Regions from separate parts of the Homo sapiens genome. Here region 2 is linked to region 1. Evidence: promoter capture Hi-C in 16 types of primary human blood cells and fetal thymus (Javierre and others, 2016). All regions are on one chromosome and are shown on one strand. Each heading gives the region's core, a stretch centred on a gene start or on the middle of the fragment in contact. The rest is flanking DNA. Distances are from core to core; before and after follow the strand shown.

Region 1 (3,508 bases), core at 89-2,588:
AGGGAGAAACTGGGTAACTTACACTAATTTTTTTAAACTATTTTTCTCCAATTAACATTTAATTTCCAAAAGCATCTTGGCAGGTATACTTGAGCACAACTGCATGCAAAGATATAGTTCTTGCATTGAGATGCGTTAACAAAAACAGAAGCAATCCAAGTAACAAAAATAACTTACTGTGATTTCTAAGTGGGCTATATCTCTCATGATACCACTTCCTAAACAGATCAACACCATGAAAAAACCGAATTCCCGAATAGAACTAATTCTTCCAATCACTATATCACCACGCTCAATATCTCGGAAAAACAGCTCTCTCCGATCCATACTAGGTATCTCCATGAATTGCTCTAAAGGTGGCATGATTGCATAATGATCTAAAAAAAAAAAATTAACAAAATCACTAACGATAGTTTTGAGTTCCGTTTCACCTGAAGTACTGTTAAACCGAACCGCAATCTTAAAGATTTTAAGGCTAAACTGACCTTCACTGTCTTCATTAATTTCAGAAGTTGCAGGTGCATCTGATTTCCAGGAAAGTGCAAAAAGCAGATCCGCTTTTTTGGAGATGAATTTCTGTATCTCGATGTTGTCAACTCTCTTCTCTTTTCTTAAAAAGAAAAAAATATATATGAAAATTGGGTTATCTGCAAAGCCTCTTTACTTCTAACCTTCTGCTTATGGCTTTCATCGCCCATTCCGCTCCATCCTAAGCTGCAGACAATACAACCTCAGACAAAAAGTTTTAACTAGGCATTCCCTCATTAACCAACCTGGAGGTGGAGAGCGGGGAAACTTAAAAAGTGACGCCTCCAACTCAGATAGGAAAGCTCAAGGGATTTTTAGCTAAGGAATCTGCGCCTCTACCAAGCAGTGCCAGAGAAAAAGTTCAGCCCGCATCCCGCATTGCACAACCCAGGAGCGCCCCCCGTCCACCCAGCCCAAGACACCAGCGCGCGATCGTCCTGTGCTCACGGCCGCGGCTCCACTTCCTCTAGACGCAAACCCGGGGCTGCGGTAGTGGCTGCCAGAGCTGCGTCCCCTCTTCCGTGGCGCAGTGGCACCAACGTCTCATTACCTGCCCTGCAACGGGTGCTGGGGCGGCGGGCCCCGGGCTGGCTCGGCGGCCGACCCCAGGAGGCTACGGAAGTGTGGATTGTCCTGCTGTTCGCTCCGAAGTAGAGAGAGCAAAGACGACCCGTGGCAATTTAGCGACTGCCGCAAAAGGTCCCGGTCCATGGCTAGAGAATGCAGGGCCCGGAGGCCGACGGGCTGATAGTTCCCTGTTCCGTGTCCGCTACTTGAGCCGGGTGGTACAGGAAGCGGAAGAAACTGTCTGGAGGCTGCCGGAAGTACACAGACAGCACAACCAGTTACACCCGGAAGTGTTCTGGGGTCGCCCCCACGGCGGCGCGGCGGAGCTCAGCCTCGATCTCGCGAAACCGAGCGAGACTACGGAAGGCCGAAGGATTGGGCTCAGCATTGCTTGGGCTAAAGGCTGACTAGGGCTTCCAGGAAGTGATGTATGTGAGAAGTTTGCTTTTTAAAGTGTACGTGGGATCGTTATTACGTCGAAATAGCTCGAGCTGTAACCTAGGGTAAATAATAATTCCTTTTCGTATTCATCAAGGTGCTTCTAAGTGCCAGTGCCAGGGTAAGAACCCTATACGAGTCTCCAAGCTTCTTCCCTCGACGTACTCTCTGCGTAAATCAATACCTGTGTCTCTGGCGTAACCCCATTCAACCGGCTGCTCCGGGAAGGTTTCCAGGTGGTTTTAAGGGCAGAAGAAAGGAAGGACACGGACATTTGTTAAGCACCTGGAGTGGTGTTCTCCATCCATACCCCATTTACTGTTAGTGATTGTGAATTCTAAAACCAGGATGGCTTTAATGTCTCCACACGTGCATATGCCATTCAAGTTTTACAATAACTAATGAACACATGCATTTCTTATTTAGTTTATCTCAATGGTTGCTCAAAATTTAGTGTCTGTGGGACTTACTGTATAGTGGTATGTACGCAAAAGTCAATATACTGTTCTTATGGACAATTCAAGTGATTTTCAAAGGGAATTTCAACTTAGGTCCCCCATCCCCTTACTTACTGACTTGAGAACCTAACCACTATGGTAGCTATTGTACTTTTTCATTTTAGAAAACGAGGAAACATGCTCAGAGAGTCCCAGTAAATTGCTCAATGGCACACAGCTAGTAAGAGGCTAGAGTTAGGATTCCAAACGAAGTATTAATTGGTCTTCTCAGGCAGAGTTGCTGGATTGAGTATTTTATCATATGGAAGGTCTAACTAACCCTAATTTTGAGATCATGTAGCTTCGTTTTATTCCAGTATAAAATTTGTACCATTTAAATATGTTCAGTGTAAATAGTTCAGTATAGTCCTCTTGAACAGAAATAAACGGTGACAGTTAGTCTCTCCACTTCCCACCATGTGTCTTTGAGGAAATCAACTTGCCTTTCACTGTGTTACCACTTTTGTATAGGAGATCTAGCCCAGAACATAATCGATACTGCCACACTGTTTTGTGGAAAACCCAGGCAAATAGGTAAACAGTTTGAGACTTGAGAAAATGCAACAAACAAGAATGCAACTGTAAAAGATAAATTTGGGTTAGGCACGGTGGCTCACACCTGTAATCCCAGTACTTTGGGAGGCCGAGGGTGGATCACTTGAGGTCAGGAGTTCAGAGACCAGCTTGGCCACCATGGCCTAACCCCGTCTCTACTAAAAATACAAAAATTAGCCGAGCGTGGTGGCTCATGCCTGTAGTCCCAGCTACTCGGGAGGCTGAGGCACGAGAATCTCTTGAACTCCGGAGGCGGGGGTTGTAATGAACTGAGATCGCGCCACGGCAGTCCAGCTTGGGCGCCGGAGGGAGACTCCGTCTCAATAAATAAATAAATAAATAAATTTCAAGCTTCTATAGGCATATCAACTTTAATAAATGGTACAGACTGACTTGTTTTAAGCCATAACTCTAGAGAATGGTTGTTTTTAGGAAAGAGTGCTGTCACTGAAAAGGAAAGCTGACCACTAAAAATTATTATAGACATCTTGATAAGTATGTGATTTGTGTTAGAGTCAATCTGTGATCAAGGACCTCATTTTTTGGAGGGACTAAGAAACCGGTGTCTGAGAACCAGACACCAAATAGTGTTACTTAGCCTGGGAATGTCACCTTCTGAGGCCATTCTTCAGTAGCACATGGTTTTATCACTATGGGATCTGTCTATACTTCTTCCTAATTCCAACACTAGGATAACCCTCCCCCACCTCATACCTTGAACATCTGAAATGGCCGTGAACATAGAAAGCAGCTCCTTTTAGGGGGTAAACAGCATTTATCAAGAGTGATATTTTTCGTATAGTAGTGACAGAAGAAATGCACTTTAAGCAAATGTACTCAAAACTCAGCGTGGGATTTTCTGTCTTTGGTTAGTTCCTTATGTGAAAGTAGCCACATTAGTTGGGTGCCGAAGGCAGTCTTAT
Region 2 (3,496 bases), core at 27-2,526, 6.0 Mb before region 1:
CCAGTTAAGGCACAGTCATATTTATGTTTGTTTTTACTTTGACAGTGGGTCTAAAATTTTAATAGAATGCAGTTTCCATTATGTACTGTATTAAGGCATATTTACAAAGTTATTTTCTCTAAGACTAAATTCTTTGATGCACTGTTCATTCCACATTGCTCCATTCATGTTTTTAATTTAAAGTTCTCAAAACTCGTGTAGTCACTAAAAAATAATACCTGAGATTAGCAATGCAGCTGTGAAGGTCAGGGTGGTGACAGGAAAGAGTTAAGACGGATTCCTCAGGTTTACTTCCCATGCAGTTTGACTTTGGTGCTTATGCTGTTAACCACTATACTGCCTTCAGAACAACTTGGCCCCACAGGTCTATAACACCCCCTACCCAAAACACACACACACAGACACACACACACACACACACACACGCGCGCGCGCGCGCATGTATTAGGAGATTGTCAAGTCAAGGAAATCAAATGACAGGCCCTCCAGAGAGGCCTACACTGATATCTTTTCATCCTCCTTTTTTCATTTTTTGGTATATGCAGAAATCCATTTGTGGAAGAATTTTGCCTGCCATATATATATATGTTTAAGTTTGTAATGTCCTGAGTTTGAAATGCAGAAAGAGTAGTAAGTAAAAATACTCTATGAAGGTTATTCAAGGTCAATTTCATTGCTTGAAATAATTCTTGAAGTTTTAAGTTTCAGAGAACTACATACACAATCATGACTATATGCTTTCTCTCTGTATATTAAAGAATGTAACAACAAAATAAGCTTCCATCCTTTTCAAAATTTGCCTTCAACATGCAAAAAAAAACTTTCTCTTTTATTTAGAGCAATCTGATATATATGCACATATATACTTGTGAAAATTAAATGGCTTTAAAATCTTCCTTTGATATTTATAAACTCCTACTTAGACAAGAGTCTGAAGGAGAGAGTTATTTCAAAACCACACTCATGGTGGCCCAGAAAAAGAGAGGTTCAAAGTAGACGGGGCTTGTTGACTTAAAAGAAAGGCATATTCACACAGGACACATTTTTGGCTTAGGGCCCAAATGAGGTGTAAGGAGTCATGGCAAAAATGTATTAACATTTAAGATATCCTTGAAAGGATAAATAGAAATTGAGTATACAAGAGAGTGAACATTCTTAAAAGCAAAGGCAAATGGGTTATTCCAGAAGTGACCACAGTACTTGATTACAGCCACTATGAAAGAAAAAGGGAGAGGAAAGCATGTTTTCACAAGTATCTTTAGAAAATAGGTACTTTGGGGAAGCAGAAATGGGCACAATTAACTTGAAAAAAAAAAAAACCCTTATTATTAACTGGATCTCCAATATTTTCACTTTTAGTCTACTTCTCTGATCTGATCTTCACAAATAAATGAACCCTGCATTTGAGACTATAAAAAACACCATTTCAAAACCCCCAAAGACTAGTTTTAAGTCAGTTTCTTTTTAGACATCAGAGGCTTCTGTAATAACCCCCTAAAAACTACTCTTGAAGTCATTATCATTTACTTCCTCCTCACTTTTCTTCCATCAAGGAATGCAATTTTATTCTATGGTCTTGGAAACTATTTTAAAAGAAAAAAGGTTTTTAGTTGATTGGCCAACCAATACACAGATTCTCAAGTAATTAAAATGCCAGCAGTGATCCTAGCTCTGTAGAGAAAACAAATTTGTATTCACAAAAGATTCTTCATAACTGTACTCGGATTCTAATTTGTGAACACTAATTTACCTAAGACTAAAGGCAATCAAGCTTGAATGATAAAAAGAAAACAGAAATTTGAACTAGTGGCTAAAAGGATTGTTATAGTTAAATAAGCCACGATTTCATGACTGACCTTTGTATAGCCTGCCTAGGTCATTGATAAAGAACGTGAAGATTCTTTAGAGAGCATGGTAAATTCAGCTTCCCTAGAAAATGTTTTTGAGTATTAGGTTCCTAGCAAACAAGGGGACTATTCATGGAAAATACAGTGCAAAATATAGAATGCATATTATCAACAAGAAACAAAATATTACATATAATTTAGGATGGGCCATTAACCTTCCCAAGTTTATTGATGTGCCTCAGGTTAAGAATTTCTGTCCCTTGGCCAGGCACGGTGGCTCATGCCTGTAATCCCAGCACTTTGGGAAGCCGAGGCGGGTGGATCATGAGGTCAGGAGATCGAGACCATCCTGGGTAACACAGTGAAACCCTGTCTCTACTAAAAATACAAAAAATTAGCTGGGCATGGTGGTGCACAGCTGTAGTCCCAGCTACTCAGGAGGCTGAGGCAGGAGAATGGCGTAAAACCCAGGAGGCGGAGCTTGCAGTGAGCCGAGATCGTGCCACTCTACTCCAGCTTGGCAGACAGAGCGAGACTCTGTCTCAAAAAAAAATAAAAAAGAATTTCTGCCCCATAGGATCCCTGAAGGTGTTGAAAGATGAAAGGACCCCAACAGCTCTTGGGTTCACCTGGGTATAACTCACTGTTTCAATTCCATTGCTTCTTTAATCTAGAGATCTTGGGATTCCTTCCTTTCAAGGTTTGTGTCTTCCTAAAATATTTTTCAATTTGTTTTTAGCCTTCTCAATATACAAGAATTTAAACTTAAATTCAGGAGTTTTAGCTCTATGACTTTTAGTTCAATTAATTTTTTTCTGTGTCCATTTAGAAAATGAGAATAAAAATATGCCTAGCTCTAATATATTTCCTGGTGTCCTAGTGAAGATTAAATGAGATGATACACATGAGAGTGTTTTGATCCCCAGATTAGAGGTTGCAAAATCAAATTAAAACTGTGCTCTGTTTGATTTATGTAAAAAAGAAATTTAACTGAATTAGTTACCAACACTTTTACAAGCAGAACTCATATAAAAAATCTAGATTTTCAACTTTTCTTGAAAAATTAAATCATCCAGGAACATACTGTTTGCATTTGTATGACAAAAACTGGCTGGGGTTGAGTAACAGCTGCTCCCTTGAAATGGGGCCAGAAGGCTTCAGTTTGTCAAAGTCCTCAACAATCCTTATTGCTTCCCAATATGGAGGCAGAATATCTGCTGCCATGTTTTAACTTATACCTGCCCTGCATGTTATTTGTCTAGTTCATATGAACATGCAGGTTTGCAACTCTCATGAAGGCTTTCTTTTTATTTTTGGTTCTAGCTCCCAAACTGATTGAACGACAGACCAATCAGTTGATCTACTTATTAATCTATAATAAGTTCAAGACTAGCCTGGCCAACAGGGTGAAACCCTGTCTCTACTAAAAATACAAAAATTAGCCAGGTGTGGTGGCATGCACCTGTAATCCCAGCTACTTGGGAGGCTGAGGCGGGAGAACTGCTTGAACCCAGGAGGTGGACGTTGCAGTGAGCGGAGATTGCACCACTGCACTCCAGCCTAGGCAATAGAGACTCAGTCTCAAAATAAATAAATAAATAAATAAATGTGAGCTGAAAGGAGTGTTTCTCTGTATTGTATGTTTTTTC

Evidence for each region. The method cuts DNA at HindIII sites, captures the fragments that hold promoters and counts their contacts. A CHiCAGO score of 5 or more calls a contact.
Region 2: a contact is called between a fragment that was not itself captured here and the fragment with the promoter of TTC14 in region 1, in 1 of 17 cell types (naive CD8 T cells). The highest score is 5.4, in naive CD8 T cells.

Annotation. Positions count from the first base shown.
Region 1 is chr3:180,599,993-180,603,500 of GRCh38, reverse strand. It overlaps TTC14 (tetratricopeptide repeat domain 14), which reads right to left and starts at 1,338. Exons shown (of 12, transcript NM_133462.4): 1 at 1,079-1,338; 2 at 486-610; 3 at 178-377. The coding sequence starts at 1,239. It overlaps TTC14-DT (TTC14 divergent transcript), which reads left to right and starts at 1,388. Exons shown (of 3, transcript NR_183700.1): 1 at 1,388-1,598. RefSeq lists an enhancer at 1,258-1,547. The HindIII fragment of the contact is 2,365 bases long and covers 1-1,682 here.
Region 2 is chr3:186,572,298-186,575,793 of GRCh38, reverse strand. The region is part of intron 2 of DNAJB11 (DnaJ heat shock protein family (Hsp40) member B11); the gene reads right to left. Among named protein-coding and RNA genes, the nearest start is that of DNAJB11, 3.3 kb to the right of the region's middle. The HindIII fragment of the contact is 994 bases long and covers 780-1,773 here.